Linked DNA regions of Homo sapiens: all the other regions are linked to region 1. Evidence: promoter capture Hi-C in 16 types of primary human blood cells and fetal thymus (Javierre and others, 2016). All regions are on one chromosome and are shown on one strand. Each heading gives the region's core, a stretch centred on a gene start or on the middle of the fragment in contact. The rest is flanking DNA. Distances are from core to core; before and after follow the strand shown. Region 1 holds the start of TBX3 (T-box transcription factor 3). Region 2 has its middle 60 kb from the start of LINC02463. Region 3 has its middle 29 kb from the start of LINC02463. Region 4 has its middle 9.0 kb from the start of LINC02463. Region 5 overlaps LINC02463 (long intergenic non-protein coding RNA 2463). Region 6 overlaps LINC02463 (long intergenic non-protein coding RNA 2463). Region 7 overlaps LINC02463 (long intergenic non-protein coding RNA 2463).

What was found. The method cuts DNA at HindIII sites, captures the fragments that hold promoters and counts their contacts. A CHiCAGO score of 5 or more calls a contact.
Region 2: a contact is called between a fragment that was not itself captured here and the fragment with the promoter of TBX3 in region 1, in 2 of 17 cell types (non-activated CD4 T cells and activated CD4 T cells). The highest score is 7.4, in non-activated CD4 T cells.
Region 3: a fragment that was not itself captured here is called in contact with the fragment with the promoter of TBX3 in region 1 in 16 of 17 cell types (M0 macrophages, naive CD8 T cells, activated CD4 T cells and 13 more); the score reaches 17.8 in M0 macrophages.
Region 4: a contact is called between a fragment that was not itself captured here and the fragment with the promoter of TBX3 in region 1, in 12 of 17 cell types (non-activated CD4 T cells, naive CD8 T cells, activated CD4 T cells and 9 more). The highest score is 13.2, in non-activated CD4 T cells.
Region 5: a fragment that was not itself captured here is called in contact with the fragment with the promoter of TBX3 in region 1 in 10 of 17 cell types (activated CD4 T cells, total B cells, total CD4 T cells and 7 more); the score reaches 8.4 in activated CD4 T cells.
Region 6: a fragment that was not itself captured here is called in contact with the fragment with the promoter of TBX3 in region 1 in 3 of 17 cell types (activated CD4 T cells, naive B cells and naive CD8 T cells); the score reaches 6.8 in activated CD4 T cells.
Region 7: a fragment that was not itself captured here is called in contact with the fragment with the promoter of TBX3 in region 1 in 1 of 17 cell types (naive CD8 T cells); the score reaches 5.2 in naive CD8 T cells.

The regions. Positions count from the first base shown.
Region 1 is chr12:114,682,469-114,685,901 of GRCh38, forward strand. TBX3 (T-box transcription factor 3) reads right to left here and starts at 1,707. Exons shown (of 7, transcript NM_005996.4): 1 at 344-1,707. The coding sequence starts at 732. TBX3-AS1 (TBX3 antisense RNA 1) reads left to right here. Exons shown (of 2, transcript NR_187552.1): 1 at 1-166. RefSeq lists a promoter at 1,709-2,218. The HindIII fragment of the contact is 4,535 bases long and covers 1-3,332 here.
Region 2 is chr12:115,944,497-115,947,929 of GRCh38, forward strand. No RefSeq gene overlaps it. Among named protein-coding and RNA genes, the nearest start is that of LINC02463, 60 kb to the left of the region's middle. The HindIII fragment of the contact is 1,549 bases long and covers 946-2,494 here.
Region 3 is chr12:115,913,402-115,916,834 of GRCh38, forward strand. No RefSeq gene overlaps it. Among named protein-coding and RNA genes, the nearest start is that of LINC02463, 29 kb to the left of the region's middle. The HindIII fragment of the contact is 9,331 bases long and covers 1-3,433 here.
Region 4 is chr12:115,893,529-115,896,961 of GRCh38, forward strand. No RefSeq gene overlaps it. Among named protein-coding and RNA genes, the nearest start is that of LINC02463, 9.0 kb to the left of the region's middle. The HindIII fragment of the contact is 7,517 bases long and covers 1-3,433 here.
Region 5 is chr12:115,875,024-115,878,456 of GRCh38, forward strand. All of the region lies in intron 1 of LINC02463 (long intergenic non-protein coding RNA 2463), which reads right to left. Among named protein-coding and RNA genes, the nearest start is that of LINC02463, 9.5 kb to the right of the region's middle. The HindIII fragment of the contact is 1,854 bases long and covers 619-2,472 here.
Region 6 is chr12:115,857,094-115,860,526 of GRCh38, forward strand. The region is part of intron 2 of LINC02463 (long intergenic non-protein coding RNA 2463); the gene reads right to left. Among named protein-coding and RNA genes, the nearest start is that of LINC02463, 27 kb to the right of the region's middle. The HindIII fragment of the contact is 1,177 bases long and covers 1,253-2,429 here.
Region 7 is chr12:115,815,444-115,818,876 of GRCh38, forward strand. The region is part of intron 3 of LINC02463 (long intergenic non-protein coding RNA 2463); the gene reads right to left. Among named protein-coding and RNA genes, the nearest start is that of LINC02463, 69 kb to the right of the region's middle. The HindIII fragment of the contact is 4,405 bases long and covers 1-3,433 here.

The sequences.
Region 1 (3,433 bases), core at 457-2,956:
AGGATGTTCCAGGAGGGTTTGAAGAGTGAGTTTCTTGCAGTAGAGTGCCTTTTTTTTTTTTCTTTCCTGCTCCCTGCAGGGATGTCTGTGCTCCACTGAAAAATTCTGTCTGTTCGGGAGGGAACCCAGGATGCAGACCAAATGCAAGACCCATGCAGATGCCCAGGTAAGCTGAAATTTCCTGCCACCGGGGCAGGGCCTGGAAGTCTGTGCATACATTTCTAGGGGAACTAACTTTTCGTCCAAGCCGTAATAACCGACCAACCGACTGTTCTGGGAGCAGAGAAATAAAGGGAGGAAAAAACTCTCCAACAGCTTAGGGGAGGAGGCCCCCACTGCTTACCTTCCCGACTTGGTAATGACCATCTCGGTGCCCCGCTTGTGAAACTGATCCCAAAGTTCTTTAGCCTCCAGGTGCACCTTGGGGTCGTCCTCCACCTCTTCTTCGGGCTCCATGGTCTTCAAAGGCCTCAGATGCGCCTGGGGCCCCAGGGAGGAGAACGGGATGCCGGTCTCGGCCGCCCCCACCAATTGATCCATGATCGGCTTGGCCAGGGCGCCCGGCAGCGAGAGCGCCGCCGCGCCGTTGGGAGGCAGCGTCAGCGCGGGGAAGAACGGCGGCTGGTGACCCAGCACCGCGCTCATGGCGAAGTCCGGCGCCCGGTGAGGTAGGAACGGATGGTAGGCCATGCTTGTCCCAGGAATGACCGGATCTCTCATGGAGAGGCTCATCCACTCCAGGCGGGGCGCTGGGCTCCAGCCGGGGACAAGTCCGCAGCTGCTGTGTTTTGTTGTTTTTTTGTTGTTGTTTAACAGCAGCACATAATTCAAAAGGGGGGAAAAAGCAAAACAAAAAAGAAAGAAAAAAGAAAAGGAGGCAGAAATCACAACTAATGCACTTCAAAGGGAGGAGGGGAAGTGTCTTTTGGAGAATGGGAGGCCGCTTTTAAAGAGGGCAAGGCGAAAAATCAGCAAACATAGTCGCGCGGGTGACCGTCCTTGTGCCTTGCGTTTTTAAAAAGCCGCTCCTGAACGTCGGTTTCAGAAGCGAGAGGAGCGAGCAGGGTCTCGACTCGCGCCCGAGCCCTGCCGCTGAGCTCGAAATAGACACTCCAGCCCTGCGTCCCAGGAATCTCTCTCCAGCCCCTAGGTCTTTTGTTGCAAATGTGAAAGGTTCTCCTAGAAGACTTTTTACCTTTCTTTTTCTTCTTCCCCCGCCCCCTATCTGTCTTCCTCTCCCTCTTTCTCGCTGGTGGCGTCTGCAGCTGTGCTAGACCCGGCTTTAACAGGGAGCGAGAGAGCGGAAAAAGTCTCTCTCCTTTAAAAAAAAAAAAATCTGATTTAAACCCCCTTCTACCAGCGCTATCAAAACTTGAATTGCAAACTGGCTTCCGTTCGCCGCCCTCCTCCTCCTTCCTCTGCTCCGAGCCTCCGGAGGGTGTCTCGGTTTCAATCCAAATCTTGCTGGGCTCTTCTCCCGTGCCTCTCTCTCTTCCTTGTCCTAAAACGTGAGCGAATTCGCTTCCTAAATCTGTGTCCAGGCGCGCAGGGCAGGGAGGATTTAGAGGGGGAAAAAATGGAACAGAGGGAAAGAGAGGGAGGGGAGAGAGAGAGAGAGAGAGAGAGACGGAGTCGGAGAGGGAGGGAGCGAGAGAAAGCGAGAGCTCCTCGCCACCCTCCGCCGCCTCTAGAATTCACCGGGCGTCTGCTCGGCGGCTCTAGAAGGTCGGGCTGCGCTGTGGGCTGCGGGGAGCCGGAGGCCTCTTGATTGGCTCTTTGACGCTTTCGGACCAATTGTGTTGCTGCATAGGCGTGGTTTTCACAGGTCGAGTGCTGGGGGATAGAGCTGAGTTATAAAAAGAAGGTGTCGGAAACTGTAACGTCGCAGCGCCGCATCGGTACTACTGCCTGTCCTGTGAATATGTCAACATGATCAGAGGGCGGGCGGGAGCCACTGGGGAGCGCGCGCGCACAGAGTCGCCTCTAGGTGGCTTATCGAGAGATCGCTGCAGCCCCTGAGCTCGCTCGCTCGCTCTGGTTCAGCCCACGTCTGAAATGCCTCAGTCATCCAGCCGGGGATCGAGGGAGGAGGCAGGGCCAAGGAGGAAGGGGGAGGGAGAGAGGGAGGGAGCCAGCGAGCAGGCGAGCCGGGCGGGGAAGGCGGAGAGCGCGCCCGGGCGCCGGGCAGGGGCGCTCGCCTCTCTTGCACTCCGCTCGCCTCTCCGACCGCCGCGGCCGGTTCTCTCTCCAGCTCTCCTTCTTCTCCCCGCCCCGGGCGAGCCGGGCGGGTGGCCGAGCCTCCCCGCGAGCTGCCATCCGGCCACTCGGTTCTACAAAAGCCGGCGGCAGCCGAGAAGCGAGCGCCGAGACTCCAGGCTTGCGTGCTCTCCAGCCCCACGTGGAGCCAAGCTCCGCCCGGCCGCCGCTGAAGGGCTCCCGAGCTCGGGTGTCTCGGTGCTGGTCTCCCCTGCGTCTGGGCTGGGGGAGCACAAGGATGCGGCCATATCTCAGCACACGCATGTGTGGGCTTCCTCTCCACTGCGCCCCACCCGCAGCCATGTGCGGGTACCCAAACACCCCCGGTGTATCTGTACTCGAACACGCGCCAACACACTGGGACTGAAACACACACCGAAAAACACGTACACACAAACACGTACACAGCCTGCGCGGCTGGCCCTGCCTGAGCTCCTGGGGAAGATGGATTTGGGATTTTTATGAAATGCATTTACCAGCCCTTTTGGATCTCGTCTTTCATTTGCATGCGGGCCCCCATATTCCACCTGGATGTGGGTGTGGGTGTAGAGAAGAGAATGGAGGATCTGGACAAAGCGAGCACAGCGAGAGACTGGGTTCTGAGCCTGTCCCCTCCAAGCCGCTGCCCTCACCTCGAGGCCCGGCTGGGTGCACAGCACAGGGTAAGGGGTGGGCGATTGGGTTGGGGGAGGCGCGCCAGCCTGGTATCTTCTCTAGGCATCGCACTTATCTCTCGGTGCCTCAGTTCTTTCTCCACCCCGGGGACTTAATCTGGCCAGAAGTCGGGGAGGGAGGGTGAATTTGTAAAACAAACCGTGAAACGCCCCCACCTCAGAGGCGAGTTGACTGTTTTTAGTACGGGTAGGGTGGGGGCCTCCTCTTAGGCGGACGGGAGGGAAACGACCGGATCTTACCAATCGCCGAATTACCAACTCTGTTACCGCAGCGCCCGGTCGGGGTCAGAGGATTCGCCTAAGCCCACAGTTCTTGATTCTGGGGGCCAATGTCTTGGACCATCCTTGCTTAGATGGAGGGAAATCTTGAAAACAATGTTCTTTTATCTTTCCTGAGATGAAAGCTTCTTCGATGGAAAGGGAACGGAGAAAGGGCTGATCTGGGGGCTTAGGGGTTTAAGAGACTCAGGGCTTTGGATGTGTGTGTCTCTGTAGGCCAGCAC
Region 2 (3,433 bases), core at 470-2,969, 1.3 Mb after region 1:
AAAACAAACGTCAGTGCAAGGCGTTAGGGCATGGTAAGGATTGCAGCAAACTGGCCAGTCCGTGTCCGAATTAAAAATGGATGGGCTGGGGGGCTTCTACGGGGCTCCAGACTCCAGTCAGTCACTACCAGGTGGAAATATAGATCTTGCTCCCAGATATAAGTGATCGCTCAAGAGAAGGTAAAAATCTGTTTTTTTTTTAGAAAAAAAAAAGTGAATTATCCTATTTTGAAATGTTGGCTACTGATTCAAACTTTTTAAAAACACTGTGCAGTCCAAATCCATCCTGCAGAGGCAAAGGCCGTATTAGGCCCAAGGATCACCCACTTGTAAACTCTGCCCTACGTTTAGAGGACATTTTTGCCCTTCAGGAACCGTGTTAGTAATTCGCAAAAGCACAGGGGTGATTTAGGGTCTTGAGCTCAGTGGACAGTATTGCTGCTTTCCCCGACATCGTGGACGCCCACAGGCAGATGGAAAGGTCAGGAATACAGATGAGGAAAGAGCCGATCTGGCCTCAGCTCAGAAGCCTTCACAAGCTACAGAGGCCTTACCAGAGAAATCTCCCTGCTTGCTCAGTTTTGCAACCGGCTCTGGAACAAGTGACCTGTCAGGCTTCTATGCCTAGGACTTGAAGGGACGTGGAGGCTTCTTTACTTGGAAGCTGATAGCGTTTGGCTGTGTCGCCACCCAAATCTCATCTTGAATTGTGGCTCCCATAATCCCCATACTTCATACGTGGGACCCGGTGGGAGGTAATTGAATCACGGGGGCGGGTCTTTCCGGTGCTGTTCTTGCGATAGTGAGTAAGTCTCACGAGATCTGATGGTTTTATAAAGGGGGTTCCCCTGCACACTTGCACGCTCTTGCCGTGACTTTGCTCCTCGTTTGCCTTCCGCCATGATTGTGAGGCCTCCCCAGCCACGTGGAACTGTGAGTCCACTAAGCTTCTCCCCTTGATAAATTACCCAGCCTCGGGTATGTCTTTATTAGCAGCGTGAGAACAGACTAATACAGAAGGGAAGAAGGCAAGAATATCTCTCCAGCAACCCAATTAAAAATCTCAGGACAGTTCAGGCCCCTGGAGGCTTTTACTTGAGTCAAATCCTCAGGAAGGCCAGCACTGCTCCTGTAAATCACTGTCTTCCTCCTGGGATGGAAAGGGACCAGGAAGCCAGAGTGCCCAGCGTGCCAGGGTTTCACTGCCAGATGTCTAGAAGGCCACATCCAACCGAGATGCCCAATTCCAAAAACGTCCACAAGTCAGGAGGTAGAGTGGGGCAGATGTGTGGGGCTGGCCCAGGACGGGGATGTTTGTTTTTGTTTGGGGGCCTGTAGGCCTGGGAGCTATTAACAAATGCCTATTAATCTTCCTGTTGGTTTCAGGGGGCAAAATTAGAGCCAGAAATGAGTCTGGAGCTACATGGACCTAGGAAGAATATTTAGAAGCCCTGCCCTCATGAACTGGGAAGGAAGAAAAGACACCTTCCCCCACAACGCCACAGGAGCTATCAAATGTGCTCTTTTTAAAGTCATTTCTATTCTTTAAAAAAATGCACCATTGTGGTGCAGCCACTGTGAAAAGCAGCATGGCGCTTCCTCAAACAATTAAAAACAGAATTACTCTGTGATCTAACAATTCCAAAATGTGTACGGCCATGTCCATTTTAGCATTAGTCACGATACCCAAAAGGTGGAGGCAAGCCAGTGTCCACTGAAGCCTGAAGGGATCAACAAAATCTGGTATATACATGCAATGGAGTGTGGTTCCACCTAGAAAAGGAGGGAAATTCTGGCACCTGCTACACAGGGGTGAACTCGAAGACATTATGCCAAGTGAAATAAGCTGGTCACAAAAGGACAAATACTGCGTGATTCCATTCATAGGAGGTGCCTAGAGGAGTCAAGATCACAGAGACAGAAAGAATAGTGGTGTCAGCGACTGGGGAGTTAGCGTTTGATGGGCACAGGGTTTGTTTTGCAAGAGGAAGAGGTTCTGGAGATTGTTTGCACGGCACTGTGGAGCTGCTCAACCCTACTGAGTTGTACACTTAAAAGTGGTTAAGATGGTACATTTCACATTATGTGTATTTTTACCACAATTGAATTATTTTTTAAATGCACCCATTTTAAATGGATAATTCCCTGTGCTTTGACAAATATAACACCACCAACTAAAACAGAGATGTTCCTCTCACTCTACTAAGTTCCCTCATGCCCTTTTGCAGTCTGTATTATTTCTAAACATCCTATTGGATTAAAATTTAATTAAGTAGAAATGATATCTCCAATGCCCTGGGTCTGCTCCAAGCCTAAAATCTCTGAGGCTACCAGGAGCCATTTCACATGCAGGTCCCCTTCTGCCCGGGGCCCACGGGCCTTTCCCGAGGTGTCTGTGGGGGTTTACAGGGGCAGGGAGGCACCATAGGAAGGATATTTGCTTTGGCTTCTTCAAGTCTAATGAACGCCAAGGTATTGAATGTAACAACATTAAAGCTTCTCCTCCTCACACACATACACGTGCACACACACATGCACATGTGTGCATACACACGTGCGCGCAGACCCCCCACCCCCCAGCAGCTACCAGCCTCTTAGCTCAGTCTTCTATGCACTATAAATTTGCCAAGCCAGATTGCTCTTCTCAGCCACCCCTACACCTGGCACCTATGCCCAACCGGGAATCTGTCCCCTGGGGCTCTTCACCTAAACGAGGGCTGCCCTGGGAGAGTGGACTCAGACCAGCCCCCCAGGGCCTTGGCCCCCTGCTTTCAAATCCCTTGACTTTTGCCCATTAAGATTTGTCAGTGAACATCGTCCCCTGGTGGAAAATCTAGGACATAACAAATATGTATCTGAGCTTCTGCGGTATTTCCTAGAATTTATTCATTCCAAAATATTTGCGAGGGAAATAACTTTTCGGTGGAGAAATCCAGAAGACGCAGCCTTAACCAAGGGTTCAAGGTTAATGTCATCTGTAAGATGATACGATGACATCTCGAACCCTCCCAACACTAATGCATTGGGAAGGACGTTGTCACTTCCATGGTGTTCTTGTCCCAAGATGCATAACCACAATTTCACCACTAGAAAATATCAGACTAACCCAAGTTGAGAGACCAAATAACTACAAAATAACTGACCAGTCGGTTTTGGGCTGTTCACCCAAACGAGAGCTCAAACAAGAACAGTTCTGTCAAAGTCACAAAGCAATAAGGAAAGACGGAGGATTGGTCACAGATCAGAGGAGACGAAGGAGACGTGATGAGTGAACGCCATGTGGGGTCCCAGATTGGACCCTGGATCAGGAAAACGACCTCATGGGAAAACGTGCAATCTGAGCAAAGGCTGAGGTCGAGTTTACGGTGATGCACAAATGTCCATTTCTTAGTCCTCATTCTTGTCCTGTGACGATGCAAGATGTCAACACCAG
Region 3 (3,433 bases), core at 315-2,814, 1.2 Mb after region 1:
CAGGGGATGAGGGTGATGAAGAGATGAGCCAGGGTGTTTGAGATGTGAGGGAGACCGATTCATAATGGAAATGAGGCTCCGTCTGCTGCAGGAAACAAAAAACAATCTCTCAACCACCAAATTACAAACATTCCCTGAGTCTTAGCTTCCTCATCTGTAAAAATGAGGATACAAACAGCTTCCATGGGATGGTTATGGGAAGGAGTGAGCATCAAATAAAATAATCCACACAAAGTGCTGGCACAGAGGAAGTGTTGAAGATGTTAACCTTTATCAGTATTATTATTACTTGTGGACATAAGACCTAGAGGGTGGCCAGGTGTGGTGGCACACACCTGTAATCTCAGCACTTTGGGAGGCCAAGGTGGGAGGATCACTTGAGGTCAGGAGTTCGAGACTAGCCTGGCCAACATGGTGAAACCCCATCTCTACTAAAAATACAAAAATTAGCTGGGCATGGCGGCAGGCACCTGTAATCCCAGCTACTTGGGAGGCTGAAGCAAGAGAATCGCTTGAACCCGGGAGGTGGAGGTTGCAGTGAGCGGAGATCGTGCCACTGCATTCCATGCAGCCTGGGTGACAGAGCGAGACTCCATCTCAAAAAATAAAATAAAATAAAAATAAACCCTAGAGGGTAACATCACTAGGTACCTCCAGTTCCTTGGAGGTTTTACTCCAAGATCAATGAGAAGAACATTAGGAAATTCACCCTGAGTGTCTGCCCTTCCTTCTGTCTTTAAATAGGGAAAGAGCAGGTTGGGAATGGTCCTAACGGTTAGGAAGTGTTCAGCTGCAGACAGACACCTCACCATGAGTGCCTTCAGCCATGGGGTTGGATTTTCCTGAATAATAAGTCTGAAGTGGGCCATCCAAGGCTTTCTGCACCTCAAGAATGCCAGAGCTCGGGATTGACGTTACTGCCATTCTGGTGGCTTCAACTCAGACTCAGCTCCAGCCACGACTGTCAGCCTCTTAAATGCAGTGGGGAGAGGAGAGAAAGGACATTTCCCAGAATTTCTCAGAGCAGCTGGCATTGACTCCCATTGGCCAGAACTGGGTCATATGGGTTCCCACAGCCAGCGAATGGGTAAAAATTCTTTGCCAAGGCCAATGTCAAAAAGGGTATTTCCTGGGTTTTCTTCCAGGATTTTTATAGTTTGAGGTCTTACATTTAAATATTTCATCCACCTTGCGTTGGTTTATATGGTGAAATGTAGGGGTCCAGTTTTGCTCTTCTGCACATGGCAGCCAGCAATCCCAGCGCCATTTGTTGAATAGAGACTCCTTTCCCCAACAATGGGATTTTACAAGCAAGCAGAGTGGGGTGGCCGGGGGTGCCCACAACAATCTTCTTCCCTGGGATGCACTTATGGGGAAGGGGGAATATTAGAGACACCGAGGATCCCCATCCTCAACTTCCCCAGGAGCTGAAGGTCATCAAGGCCTCAGGTGGTACCTAGCAGATGCCGACTGTGTGCCTAGCCTCATGCCTGACACAGAGACGTACAGGAGACATGGGCTGGTTCCTAAAACAATGGAGTCAGGTGATAGAAACAGGACACACACGTGCACACACACACGCACACAACTATATAAAGAGTGGGATCCTCAGTCGCTGCAGGCTGGCCTGATATAGTGGGTCCCAATGCCCTGGGCCTTGAAGAGTGGGAGGGTAGGGGGAGAAAGGAGAGGCAAGGGCATTCCAGGAAAGGGGCCCAGCCTGAGCAAAGGCAGACAGGAGCGTGTGATCTCAACCAAGAGCCTCTTTCCATATTGAAAAAACTTCTGTTAAATGGCAAGGTCTACACTGAATGCCAAGTATGCAGAGAGAAGAATCTCAGTCCTTTTCCTCAATGAGCTCATGGTCTTTCAGGCATCCATTCACTTCTACCCCCTGCCCACCCCATGCAAAACAATCGATGAATATCATTTGCTATAACCCAAGCACGGTGCTAAGCACTTCGCAGACATAATCTCAGTTGATCAGCACAATAAACCTACCAGTAGGAACCATTAAGACCCTCAGTTTACAGAGGAGGAAAAAAATGGGCACAAAGAGGTTAAATAGCTAGAGAGGCAGGAAGAGGGTAAGAGGGCATCAGTGGGGTAAAAGAATACTGTGTTCCCTGTAAATGTATATAATTACGATTTGTCCATCAAAAATAATATTAATACAAAGCAAACAAAAATACTATGTGCCAATCTTAGTTCAGCCACAAACATCCTGTGTGAACCTGGGCAAGTCCTCTCCCACCCTGGGCCTCAGCTTACCCACCTGTAAAAGGGATGCAAAGTCTCAGAGCTGCAAGGCTCTGAGGTATGAGGGTCTGCAGATGCTGCCGTGCATTAGAAATACCTGAGGACCTGCTAAAAGTCTTGATGTCCTGGTCCGATCACAGGCCAATTAAATCAGAATGTCGATGGGTGGAAGGCAAGCACAGCTTTGCTTTGTTTTGTTTGAGACAATGTCTTACTCTGTGGCCCGGGCTGGAGTGCAGCAGCGCAATCACGGTTCACTGCAGCCTCGACCTCCTGGATTCAAGTGATCCTCCCACCTCAGAGTAGCTGGGACTACAGGTGCTGCCACCACACCCAGCCATTTTTTTTTAATGGTCTCCAGGTGATTCCAAAAGTGAAACAAAGTTTGGGAACCACTGGTCTGAGGATTCCCACTTTCTGGCCTCTTGTGATACCACGGGGATAGCCTGAGACAGGATGAGGGTATTGAGCCAAAAAATAAATTAAATTAAATATCCAGAATAGGCAAATCCATGGAGAGAGGAAGCAGATGAGCAGTTGCCAGGGACTGGGAGGAGAGGAGAATGGGGTACAGGGTTTCCTTTTGGGGGAAATGAAAATGTTGGGAAACTAGATAGTGGTGATAGTTGCACAACACTGAATGTGCTGAACTGTATGCTTTAAGAAGGTGAAAATGGGGCCGGGCACGGTGGCTCACACCTGTAATCCCAGCACTTTGGGAGGCCAAGGCAGGCGGATCACTTGAGGTCAGGAGTTCGAGACCAACCTGGCCAACATGGCAAAACCTCATCTCTACCAAAAAATACAAAAATTAGCCAGGCATGGTGGTGGGCACCTGTAGTCTCAGCTACTCTGGAAGCTGAGGCAGGAGAATCAGTTGAACCCGGGAGGCAGAGGCTGCAGTGAGCTGAGATCCACCACTGCTGTCCAGCCTGGGCAACAGAGCAAGACCCTGTCTCAGACAAACGAGATGGTGAAAATCGGAATCTCTATGCTATGTGTCTTTTACCACAACATTTTAAAAAACAAAGCAAGCAGGGAGGGAGGGAGGGATGGAAAAGAAAAATAGAAATTACAGTAAAAATAGGGCATGACTTACAGGAGGTCAGAACTTTAAGGTCAAACAGGGGGACACCCAGGATAAGAGCTTAGCCTCTGGAGGCCGACCCAGGTT
Region 4 (3,433 bases), core at 630-3,129, 1.2 Mb after region 1:
TAACAGAGTGAGACCTTGTCTCCCCCCAGTTTTTTTTTTTAAAGGAAGTCTTCAGCCCAATGTCAATAGTGCCCAGGTTGAGAGGCTCTGGTCTAATTCAACCTTCCCCAGCCTCAATGGCAGCTCAGGGGATTACACCAAACTTACCCTTTAACGTGAATTCTTTCAGGGCCCCCAGTAAATGGAAACTTTATCTCCTTCTCATCTCAGAATCTACAACCTGGTGGCCAGTTTAGCAACATGTGATTCTTTTTTAACACCCCCCGTTTCTAAGAGGAAAATCAAAACAAAACCCTCCAAATAAATTGCGGGAAAAATAAAAGGATATTTCTGATGTTTTTCTAGGCTTTTCATCCTTTTTAAAACGGGGGCGAGGGGGAGGTCAAGTGGCAGCTGAGGAATAAAAACAAGTATTCAAAAGCATCAGCGACCCAAAGTCCGCAGAAAATCAAAACGAACCCAGCTCTCAGTGTGCGTAATTACGGGTACAATCAAGTAATGAAAGGTTTATTAGTTTAATGTGATTCCATCAAGTACCAAAAAGCGGGAAGGAGTGGGAGAAAGAAAGAAAATGGATATGAAAGAGGGGAGGGAGAGACATGAAAGAGGAATATGAGTGGGCAGAGATGGCGAAATTAAAATGCATCTTTATTTAAACTGCACGTCCTGGATGTTGAACCAGAGTTGGTCCAAGGCAGCTGCAGAGGAGCCAACCTGAGCGCCTTCTGCAAAACATATGCCTTTGCAGTCATCCAGTGGATGATTTTTTAAGACTATGCACTTGACCCTGTTTTGGGCTATGGGGACTCAGCGATGAATGAAATAGACAAAAATTCTCCTCTTCCCCACTCTACCCCCTGGAACTTACATTCAAGTGGGGAGAATAGACATTCAATGAATTAACAAGTCAAATGCACTGTATTATTACACAGAGAAATATAAAGCAGGGAAGCGGGATAGGAAGTGCCAGGGATGGGAGAAGCACTGGAATTTTAGAGCAGGTGGCCAAGCAAAGACTGGAATGGAAGGACATAAAGGAATGAGCCAAGGGCAGACGTGGGGGAAGAACATTGCCAGTAGAGGGCAAAGGAAGTGAACGTGTCCTGGGGTAGGACATGCCTGTGGAGAAATAGTGAGAAGGCCAGTGTGGTTGGACCAGAGCAAGGGGGAGGCAGCAGGAGATAAGGACAGACAGGTCATGGAAGCCAGATCCTGTAGAACCTTGGAGGGCACAGGAAGGTCTCTAGCTTTTATGTTGAGTGAGAAGGGAGCAAGGGGAGGGTTTTGAACAGAGGAGAGACACAGGATCACCCTAGCTGCTGAGCAAAGAGAGGGAAGCAGGGCTGAGACCAGGACAAGGCAAGTTAGGCATGTAAGGAGCAAAATTTTAGAAGGCACCCACTCTCAGGGCATGCAGTGATTCACTTGTCTCTCTCTATCCCAGCCCTGCAATGAAGGGTTATTTAGACCTTAAGGTAAAGACTCTGTGATGGACACAGACCATCCCCGTCAAGGAATGCCCTGTTAGCAGACAGCATACAGCTATCAGCCTCTCCAGGGATGGCTCAAGGTGCAGAAAGCCATACCCTTTCTCAGGGTGTGTTTTCATTTTTTATCTTTTTAAAATTTTAAGTTCTGGGATACATATACAGAACACGCAGGTTTGTTACATAGGTAAATGTGTGCCATGGTGGTTTGCTGCACCCATCAACCCATCACCTAGGTATTAAACCCTGCATGCATTAACTATCCTGATGCTCTCCCTTTGGGTGTGTTTTTAAATGTAGGCTTTATAGTTCTCATTATTATTATTATTCAGGTATGGCAAAGTCAAAAGATAGGAGGCCATTGAGTATTAAAAAGATACTTTGTTACTCACAGATCCCCAGTGTGGGAGCTTGTCATGCCAGCAGTGGCCACAGGGGAGCAGCACCAGGGATGTTCAGGAGGCAGAGGGAATGGGTGAAAAAGTAGGCAAGATCCTTGATTGCGGTTTCTGAAGGAAGAAACAGGTGAGGCAGGGTAAGCAGGCTTGGAATTGGCTCATTAGAATAACTTCAGTAGGTTCTGGGGCATAGCACTGTCCCTAGCTGTCTGGTACCTGGCCCTGTAGTGATTAGGGTAGGTGGATAGTGGCCCATAGTGTGAGAGCCAATAAAGGAGGTGGTGGGGCCTGTGGGCTTTGGGCTGGTTGGTTTGCATATGAAAGCTGCACTTGAAGTCCACTCATTTACTCTATGAAGGAATTGACTGGCTTTAGGAGAGGCAGTCTCTCCAGAGTCAGCAAGGGTCCCAGGTGTGAAAATATGAGAATGAAAAGGCATGCTTAATACACAGTGGCCCACATCCAACGACCAATGCATGTAGGAGTATAGAGGCCTGGCCCTCCCAGCCCACATGGGACAAACCCAAAGGAGCCACTTCAGCTCCAGAGCTCCCCATGGGGTCATTGGGCCGAGGCTGCCATTGAACCCTCATCACAACTCGACTTCCCCATCTGCCTATTCCTGCTTCTTCTTTCCCTGAACTTCCACAGGCATAGATCCCCATGGCACTCCACAATAAATACCCTACAACCTAAACTCTGTCCCAGAGTCTGTCTGCTTCCTGGAAAACCCAGCCTAGGACAACATGAGAGAAAAAAAAATGTGAAATATGTCCCCAAAACATCAGTGGGCAGATGGCGAGATGGCCAGAGAAGACAGTCATGGGGTGAATTCCCAGCTCCATCCAGCCTGGCCCACTCCCTGGGGTCTCTCTCCTTGGTGACAATTCTGGGTCTTTCTCTCTCGCTCTCTCCTGCCATCTCTCTCTCCCTTTTTAAATTGTAAAGTATAACACATATACAGAAAAAATGTACAAGTCACACAGATATAGATCAGTAAATTATTACAAAGCGAACACCCAGGTCAAGAAAGAGAACATCAACTGCAACCCCCAAACACTCCACCATTCCACCTCCAACCAAAGGTAACCTTTTGTCTCTCCTGAGTTTTAACACCCTTATTTAGTTTGGCTTCTTTTGGAATTTTATACATTTGACCATAATGTCTATAGAGCACATATTCTTTGAGCTTGCTTCTCTCCCTCAAAATATATACAAAATGTGTATATGTGTGTTGTGTGCGTGAAATGTATCCATGTCACTGCAAGTAATTGTATTTGATTCATTTTTCATTGCTGTATAATATTCTATGATGGAACCATGGTATCCCATTTTTCATTCTACTTTAATGGACATTGGGGTCAACAGGCATGTGGCAAAAGGGTTTCTCTAAACAGCCCGTAAACACTGGAAAAGAATGCTCAACATCATTGGTTACCAGGAAAATATCACTTCAAACCAAATTCCTACCCACCAAATTCTGGTGGCTACTATCTACCCACCAGAAGGGCTAAAATTAAAAAGTCAGATAATACCAAATGTTGGTAA
Region 5 (3,433 bases), core at 296-2,795, 1.2 Mb after region 1:
GCCACAGAAAAATTTTTATAAAAGGGGTAGGAACATTTCAGCTTGCAGAATTTGGAATGTCTGGATGTCAACTATGATGTGGAAGGTAGGGGCAAGGGAAGGGTGTGGACAACTCTGAGGTTTCTGGGTGACCATGTAAATGCCCGTATCCTTAATAAAGATGGTAACTTTTATTTTAAGGGGGGCATGTTTAGGGACACAGGAGGGAGTTAGAGCAATTAGTTTAAGTTTATATATGGTGAGCTTGAAGTACTTTTGAGACATCCAGGAGTGAGGGGCAGATGAATAAGGACAGAAAAGAAATTGGGGACAGAGAGAAATGCAAGAAACAAGAGTAGTTATACAAGTTATAATTTGTATACAATGGCCAATTACACAAGTTGCCATTGATAACGTGCTTCCTATGTACTTCCTATCTCTTGATCCTCACAATGCCCCCTGAGGGAGATGTCCTTATAGAGGGCCACATAAGTTGCTCAAATCATCCAACTGGTAAGGGAGGAACCAAGATTCAAACTCAGGCCAACTAACCACAATGCTGAGAAAAAGATTCCTGACTACCATCCCACGAAGTGGATAGGAGCCCTCCAGGTGAGAATGTGCACTGAGCCTAGCCAAAGCTTCCATTGGCCCATAGCCCCAGAGTCAGGGTCTCCTGCCTCCTAGTGCAATTCAAATTAATAAAACCGGATTGAGAACCACAGACTTCAGGAAGCACCCAGTTTTAAAGAACAGGGTCTGCCCCTCCAGAGCTCACACACAAATTCCAGGCCATCTTTGGACTCACTGATTTGAAGAATCCTACATGCCATGAAGGGATTCCTCAAGGCTAAGTTTGGACTTGGTACCAAAATAGACTCACCTCTCACTATAAACCAATTCTGGGTCTATTGTGTATAATATAGTAGTCTTGTATAGGTAGCAGCAACCTGAATCTGTCCTGAAGACACAATTCCTCAACAACTCACTCAACAAGCATGTGTTAATTGCTAGCTACGTGCTAGGCATTGTGATAGGCACTGGCAAATACAAGTGTTTAAAAACATAGTGCTTAAAGTATCAACAAAGCAAGGGTACCATAAAACTGAGGGAAAAAAATATCTTTTAAAAATTTCATATTTTATGGCTGCATAGTATTCCATGGTGTTGAAGCTGGAAACCATCATTCTCAGCAAACTAACACAGGAACAGAAAACCAAACATTGCATGTTCTCACTCATAAGTGGGAGTTGAACAATGGGAACACATGGACACAGGGAGGGGAACATCACACACCAGGGCCTGTTGGGGGGATGGGGGGCAAGCGGAGGGATAGCATTAGGAGAAATACCTAATGTAGATGACGGGTTGATGGGTGCAGCAAACCACCATGGCACACGTATACCTATGTAACAAACCTGCACGTTCTGCACATGTATCCCAGAATTTAAAGTATAATTAAAAAAGAATTTTATATTTTATATCTACTGTAGTTATTAACAATGTATTGTATACTTAAAAATTGGTAAAAGTAGATTTTAAGATTTTAAGCATTCTCAGCACAAAAAAAAAAATGGTAAGTATGTGAGGTAATGCATACATTAATTAGCTTGATTTAGCCATTTCACAATGTATACATATTTCAAAGCATATTATATACCATAAATATTTTTTGTCAATTAAAAAAATAGAATATATTTATAAATGAGTTGTAATAGCAAAAAAAAAAAAGAAAGAAACTTAAAAAACAAGTAATTATCACAGTAAAAATCAGAATTTAAATGGCACCATACTATTCTCAGTAATATGAGTCTCTAAGGAAAGACATTGGTCTCTGCCTTTCTGGAACTGGGTGAAATATATGTTAGGGGAGATTTGAATATGGTAGAATTTTTGAGTTATACGTGTCTTGGTTCAAATCCCAGTTCTGCCACCTTCCGACTATGTGATCCTTAAATTATGAGTCTTAGTTTATTCATTTGTAAAATGTAGATAGAATCAACTTAGAGTTGTTATAGGGACTCATAAAGTAGTGTCAGGAAAGTGTATGGCGGAAGTCAATATAAATCAAATCTTACTATGAGACTTTCCTTCTCCTAGGCTGTATTAGTTATCTATCACTACATTAAAAAATCACCATGAACTTAGAACCTTAAAACAACACACATGTATTATCTCACAGTTTCAGCATTAGGAATCAGGCATCATTTGCCTGGGTTCCCTTTCTTAGATCTCTCATAAACCTGAAATCAAGACACTGGCCAGGGTTAAGGTCTCATCTGAAAGCTCAGTGGAGAAGATTGCACTTCCAAGCTCACTTATGTTGTTGGCAGGATTAATTTCCTTTGGGATATTAGACTGTGAGACTCAGTTCAAGCTGGCTGGTAGCCAGAAGCCACCCTCAGTTTCTTGTCACATGGGCATCCCCAACATGGCAACTAGCTTTACTAAAGCCAGCAAAGGAGAGAGTTTGCTAGCAAGACAGCAGTTCCAAGCTTATATGATGTAATCATGGAGGTAACATTCCATCTCCTTTTCCATATTCCACTGCCTAGAAGCAAGTCGCAGGTCCTGCCCACACTCAATAGCAGAGGATTTCACAAAAGTGTGAAGAGTGGGGTTGGGGGCCAATGGGGCCATCTTATATAGCCTGTCTACCACACTGGCTGACATTTCTCACTCCTTCAGCACAGTCCTCTACTATTGGCACATCAAAAAGGATGCACCTGCTTTTCAACCCAAAAGATCTGTGGCATTAAGGCCCCCACCAACATGGCAGTATAGGTTGGCCACCTGCTGAAAGGCATCTGCAAATCCAATGTCCTTGTCTTTGAACAAGACTGAATATAGGCGTATACCTGCCTTCTGAGATACACATAAGCTTCATGATCTAACTTGATGTGTGTCATCTCATCTAAAGGCAGATTAAACTTTGCTTACAGATACTTTCATAAAATGAAAGTGTCCTATTTGAGATTAGGCAGAATCACATAAAACTTAACACTTTTGAGACCAAGTTACATTTATTCATTCAGCAAATATTTAATGAATATTTACTTAGTGCCAGCACCACTCTGGAGATTGAGCATACTGTTGTAAACAGAACAGAGAAAGCCTTCATCCTGGAGCTCACATTCTATTGGAGGAGGGGTTAGGGAGAGACAGTAAAATAATTACACAGCATGTTTGGCAATGTTAATAATGTATCAAATGTGACTCCATTATAAAGTTTAAACATGAAATTTTAAATCCATGGTTTATTACCAAATATGAGAATTACTTTTAAAAGTTCATTGACAATCCCAGTAACTACTGCCTCAAACAGAACGAAGTTTCTCCAAATTGAAATTGTTTTAAACTATGAATATCTTAGTTGAGGTAGCAAGTACATGAGTATACACATTTGTCACAATGCACTAAAATGTTACATTTAGAATGTGTGCTTTTTATGGAA
Region 6 (3,433 bases), core at 591-3,090, 1.2 Mb after region 1:
GCATTAAAAATATTTAGTGCTATGTAAATCCTTTGCATGTATTATTTGCATAGAATGTTTCTGAAAGCAAAAAAAGAAAAAAAAAAAGCTAATTGATTAATTGCTTCCTAGGAAGGGACTTGGTCTACAGGATATCCTCACAACCTCTTTAGGAAGTAAATATTACTATTTTATTCATTAGACACGAGGAACCTAGAACAAGGGAACTCCAGAAGCCCCAGTGGAATGAAAAGAAAGGAATCCAATGAGATCATCGCTATTAATTCACTCCAAGTTTCTTGACTGTTGTCTCTGTGCCAGGCTCTCTGGAATCGCAATAGCACCTACAGCACAGAGTGGTTTGGTAATTAAATAAGACCCAATAAGCAGGAATTTGCTCCCCACAGATGCTTGATAAATAGGAGCTGGGTTTTATAACAATTTAATTAATAATATATAGTCATTCATTTTGCAGCTCATCTCATTTGGTTTTGCCAACAGCACTGTGTATAAAGTAAGGCAAGAGTGGTTGCTATCATATCCATTTTACAGAAAACTGAGGCTCAGGAAGGTGAAGTTCATAGGGGCTCCCCATGCAACCAATTCTGGAGCACATAGAAGAGGCTTCCTGGAGCTGATGGTGCCCAACCACCAGAGGGCTCAGACAGAATCCTGGCTCTGCCCCTCACTTGCTGTATGGCATCCTGAGCAAGTTACTTAGGTTTTCTGCGCCTCGAGTTTTGGCATCTATAAAATGGAAACAAACGAAAGCACTGCATCTTAAAATGCTGAAGATGAGATGAATGAATATGTATCAATGACTACAACTAGTGATTCCTTTAAAACGTTAAGTCAGATCCTGTCACTCTTCAGTTCAGACCTTTCCATTGGCTCCCATCTGCTTTGCAATAAAATCCAAAATCCTCACTGCGAATGGCCCATGGAACTTCACATGGCCTGGGTGTCCAGCAACTTTCTCCCTGTTCTCAGCCTTTGGCTCACTCCTCCTCCACCAGCTGGCTTCCTAGCTGCCTGGGGACACACAGAGCTCAGCCCTGCCTCCAGGCCTTAGGACATTTTGTTCCCTCTCTTAGGAACACACTTCCTCGCTCCTCTGTCACCTCTCAAGCCACCCTTCCCTGACCACTTTCCCCATCACCCTCCTTGTCCTGCTGGATTTCTTTCTCATCAGCACTTACGGCTGCCCAACAGACCACACATAGTGTTTATCTGCATATTCATTTCTTGTCCATTGGCCCTGCTCTGAAATGCAAGCTTGATGAGGGCAGGAATAGGCTGTTTTGTGCATCACTGCATCCCCAAGACTTGGAACAATGTCCGGCACCTTGCTGGCCCTCTATAAATGTTAGGTCTCCCAAAAGGCAGGAGACAGGGTCACTACAGGCAATGAACACAGCATAAGCAAAGGCCTGGTGGTGGGGACAGAGCATAATCCAAGCAGGGACCCACACGGAGTTCCTTTGACCTGGTGCTGCCACCCTGGTTAGGGGAAATGGGCTCTGCTTACCACCAAGACACCTTGGACACATGGATTTCTTAGAAGCCCAGTGAAAATGCTTTGGGCTGACTCCTTCTCCGATACTTCCTCATCCCCTGTTCTGTTTGACCCCTCATCCTTTGCCGGGGTCATTGCTGCCTTCATCTGCAGCCCAAGGATAGGGGTACAGGCAGCCAGGGCTGGGGGCCCCTCAGTCCCAACTAGCAGCTTTGGGGGTCTTTGGAAGGCTGGTATCTAACAGAATGAGGGGAAGACTTTGGGAAGGAAGAAACCTCCCCAGGGAAAAGCTACCTTGTACAGAACTCACAGCTCACAGCCATAAAAAGAATAAAAACTAGAAAAGGCTCCATCTCCTTGGCCCCTTTAAGAAAGACACCTTGGGATTCTGGCTGGAGGTCACAGCAGGAAACTGGACATGTACAGAAGGGGCTGCCCGATAAAATAAATAATCATTTATTAAGGTACTTGTCTACACAGCAGGAAATCAGCACAGGGAGTGTGGGTCGGGGAACAGAGCCTCCCTGAAGAAGGCAGCTATCTTTAAAAGGGGGGATCTTGATTTGAAACACTTGTCTCCAGATGGGACCAGTAATCCTCAGCCCTTAGCCTCATTCCAAACCTCCCAAGAAAAGGAATAGCAGTGCACAGCTTTCTAGAACCTTCCAGGGCAGGAAGAAAAACGAAGAATGAAGAGACCTTCTTCAGGCCACCACACTGGCTTCCCCCCAACTTGTGCCCACGAGTTTTGGGCTGGAGCTGAGACGATAGCCTAGCAACATGTTTTATTTCTGCAAAAGGAAGTGATCTTTGAAACGGAGCCACAAGAAGATCTGAAAAGGGATTTCCTGATCACAGCCCTGGGTGAAGCAACTAGGATGGAGCTTCCTCCAAAGCCAGACTGGCTAGGGCACCACTGCTCCCCCTTCTTGAAAGCTTCGTACTTTCTCCTTCCACAGACGCTGTGCAGGATTTTCTCTCTTTGCCTGGAATGTTCTCTCCCTACCACATGCTCCACCACCTCCACCATCCCTTGCATCCCTTGGCCTGGGCAACTTCTTCTCCATCTTTCAGATTTCAGCTGAACCAGGGAAGCCTTCTCTGATCACTTTTTTTTTTTTCCTGAGACGGAGTCTCACTCTGTCGCCCAGGCTGGAGTGCAGTGGGGCAATCTCGGCTCACTGCAAGCTCCGCCTCCCGGGTTCACACCATTCTCCTGCCGCACCCTCCCGAGTAGCTGGGAATACAGGCGCCCGCCACCACGCCCAGCTAATTTTTTTGTATTTTTTTAGTAGAGACGGGGTTTCACCGTGTTAGCCAGGATGGTCTCGATCTCCTGACCTCGTGATCCGCCCACCTTGGCCTCCCAAAGTGCTGGGATTACAGGGGTGAGCCACAGCGCCCGGCCTCTGATCACTCATAAGCAACCAGCTGAGCTGCTACATATGGGCTCTCGCATACCCACCACCCCCACAGCGCCAAATTGTGTATTGCTCAGTGCTTATCATGGCTGGCACTGCACACTTTATATGGATGCAATAGTTTATTGCATCTCTTCTCCACTGCTTCAGTTGTACCTAACACTATAGCCACAATGCATGACACATGGTAGTCCCTCAATGAAGATGTGTTGAATTAATGAACAAATTGACCTTTGGGAAAAATATATCAGTATACTTCAGTCTCCTAGTTAAGTGTCCAAACACTTGAATGTATGCATGAATGAGGGATGAATAAATGAGCAAGTGAATGAATGAGCAAATGAATAAATGAGCGGGTGAGTGAATGAGTGAGTTATTGAATGAATGAGTGAATGAGTAACATAGTGACTGCATGAGTGAAGGGGGAAGTAAAAGAGCGAATGAATAAGTGAATGACAATGGCTTCCTTGAGGGTGGTCCTATTAGTTAATGCCTTTTTTCGGTCTCTCCTTTTCTC
Region 7 (3,433 bases), core at 625-3,124, 1.1 Mb after region 1:
AACCCAATCAATGTCTTCTAGGATCCCATGGGGGGTGGATTCATGGCCCCTTCCACCCAATAATGGGGTGAACTGTATGGACTAAAACCTTCTTGAGGTTATAGCCTCTTATAACCTGCCTTATAAGCATGCTGCCCATTCAGAATTGGTCATTTCATAAATTAAGTGGGTCCTGATGGTGGTAGTGGAGCTGCCAGTGATAGTCAGAAGCATACCATCTACTAAAAAAGGACAAAAACCCAAGTCAAATAGACTTAACCAAAAAGGAGGATGTATTGGTTCACAAAACAAAAAATTTCATGTCAGATCGAGCGAGTTAGAATAAGGACCCATCAGTTCAAACACGGACCCAGTTCCTCTCTCTCCCTCTCCATTCTGTCTTGGAAACTGTTAGACTTGAACAGTGTTTGTACACATTTGGACATCTATACAAGGCCCTCTGATGCTCTAGAAACTTCCTTTCCATTAGCAACACAGTGAACACATGGCTTCCCCGCAGCCTGAGGGGGAAAGAGGGTCTCCTCTGGTCGCTTTCTCAGAGGGGAAAAGAGGCCTGTCTGTCAAAAATCCAAACAAATGTCTTCTTGCATTTCACAGGCCTGGATTGGTTCAGTACTCAACCCTGAGCCAATGCTTGTGGTCTGGGCTGGGGGCGTGGTGGAGGGAGATTTGTACATTGGCTTGCACTAGTTGGGTCTTGAAGCTGGGTGTTGGCGCAGTCCCACCCAAACCACATGGCTAAGAGAGATAAACCTGTCCAGAAAAATGCTAGGTAATGCTGCTAGGGAGAACAGATCGAATGCCGGTGAACATACACAGACCACTGCCTCACATTTGAGTTACAATTTCCGAAGCTCCTTTCTCACACATTGTCTCTGTGGACCCTTACAGAAGCTCTCTAAGGGACAGAATGAAGGCTTTTTGGCTCTAATATTTTCCACCACACTTACTAAGTGCATGCACATCTCTTTCCCTAACAGGAGTGATGCCAGGCAAGCCATTTCATTTTACCTCTGCATTCAGGGACATCGTGTTGGTAGCTTGAAGACAGCCATGCTGGGAATAGTTACACCATGGGAACTGCCAAACAGTACACAACAGGTAAGTTTTGTTCAGAAAGCTGATTTGCTGGCCCACTGAAGAGCTTCTGGCTCTGAGATTCTCCACAAAGTTCACCAAGGGGGTCAGAGAAGGATTTGTTTACCAGCCCCAGTCATCCTCCATTCAACCCCACAGTGGTCTTTCGAGAACAAGACTATGACATTTCATGACATTCTTTCATAGCTACCTATTACCTTCAAATTATCTTTCCAGATTCATTCCCTTACCCATCCTTTGAGCACTGGTTGTCAGTCACTTGCTATTCACAAAGCTCCAGCTGTTTTCTCACCTCCGTGACTGTGCACATGCTGTTTCCTCTGCTTGGAACACCCGTGTTTCCATCCTCCACGTGAGGGACCCTTCCTCCTCCACCAAGACTCAATGCAAAGGCTGCAGGCATTCTCCTCCTCCAGGTAGAGCTGGCTGATCTGTCTTCTGTGGTCCCACCACCTCTCCACCCCAGAACTGCCAAAATCTTGCTAGAATGTAATTACTCATCTACATATCTGTCACCTCCAGATGACTGCCTGCCTGGTTCACTGTTGTATTCTCAATGTCTAGCACAGAGCCCAGCCTACACTAGATAGTTCAAAACTAATTCTCAGATCAACAATGAATAAAACAAAGAAGTATTTAGCACCCACTATATGCCAGATACTGTACTAAGCATTGAAATTTGTGAGAGGGGTCAAGACATGGTCCTTGACCTCAAAGAGCTCAGATTATGCACATAAATAAGCAAGATTAAGACCTATGCTAAAATAAACAAGATAGAGACCTAAGTTAATCATCATTGCATCCCTTCTACTTAGCACTTAATATGTGCTAAACAACTGTTTGTGGAAAGAACGATGGTTCAAAACCCCCTTGACTTATTCAGGCCAGCAGAGGGGCATTCTTGACTCGGCTGTCATTTGTAATACACCATCATCACCAGACACTATTAAGCATCCGTGTAGTATAAACACAAAGCGAGTTACACAGACGCAGCCCCTGATGTCTGGGAGTCTGCATTAAACTAATGACATCAGCTCTCGGCAAACAGGAAAGAACAAACAAGCAGAGAAAGAAGTTGTGTGCTCCATGGTGAAATGGGAATGAGCAACCCAAGCTCGTGACGGGATCAGGGCACAGGCACATTGAGTACCAGGGACTCAGGCCAGCCGCCCTTTTTGGGTGGGATAAAGAGCATGCATCACCACTGCATTACCACTCTAAGGAGAAATGAAATGATGAAGACTTGAACACGAGGTGTGTAAGACTGAGAAATCATAATAGTAGTCATGATTGACATTTTCTTCACTATTGTCTGTGCACCAGGTACCATGCTGGCCACTGTATCTCTAGCAGGTCATTGAATCCTCACAATAGTCCTGAGGTCAATATTCACTTTATACAAATTAAAAACTGAGGTTCAAAAGAGGTAAGTCACTTGCCTAAAATTGCACAGCCAATAATAGGGAAGCCTGGGTTTCCAACTCAGATCTAATTCCTGAGCCTGATTTTTAGCCATAGCATTATACTACCTCAGAGAAGCTAGAAAAAGTGCAGACAAGTTTTAACCCTCTTTTCCAAGAGGGAAAGAGTTTGGATGAAATATGCATAAGTGTTTGACAGGTGAGCCTCCCTACGGCCAGGATGCAGAACTGCTCCATCACCACAAAGAAATTCCCTCGTGTTACTCCCTGTAAGTCTCACCCTTCCTCAATAGGCAGTTTGTTTCATAGCTGAGAAACCCAGCCAAGCAAACTGGGCTAGCACAGATCTCTCTTACATTTTTTGATCTGCTAATTTACTGTTGTGCTTCCTCCACGCAACTGGCTTGTAAATTGCACATCCTCATGAGGGGGTCATCTTAGCATTTCCCTTCCTCTCTCCTCTTCTCAAGCCTAAAATGCCAACATAAAGCCTTCCAACTGGGACAGGAGATAAGAAATGAGGAGGCAGCTGGGAGCATGAAATGGATCAGGGTGCAGAGGTAGGAACAGCCCATGGACATGCCTAGTGGCTGGACCAGTTGTGTGTGGTGGTGAGGCGGGAAAGGGTGAACCTCAATGCCAAGTCAACTTTCTTCTTTTTTGTTGGAAAATTGCAAACATATATTTGACACAGACTCAAATTCACACATGAAGAGAAGCCAGAGTCGAGAGCTGCAGGCCCCAGGTTCCAAACTGGTCAAAGAAAGCTCACTGTCATTGTAAATCTTCTACAGGAACACTCCTGGTATTGTGTGACCATTAAAGGTATGGGCTTTGGAATTGGTCCTGTCTGGTATTAACGCTCTGTTTCAGTACTTGGTAGGGATGTTGCGGTGAGTTTGAGTAGTGCCCTG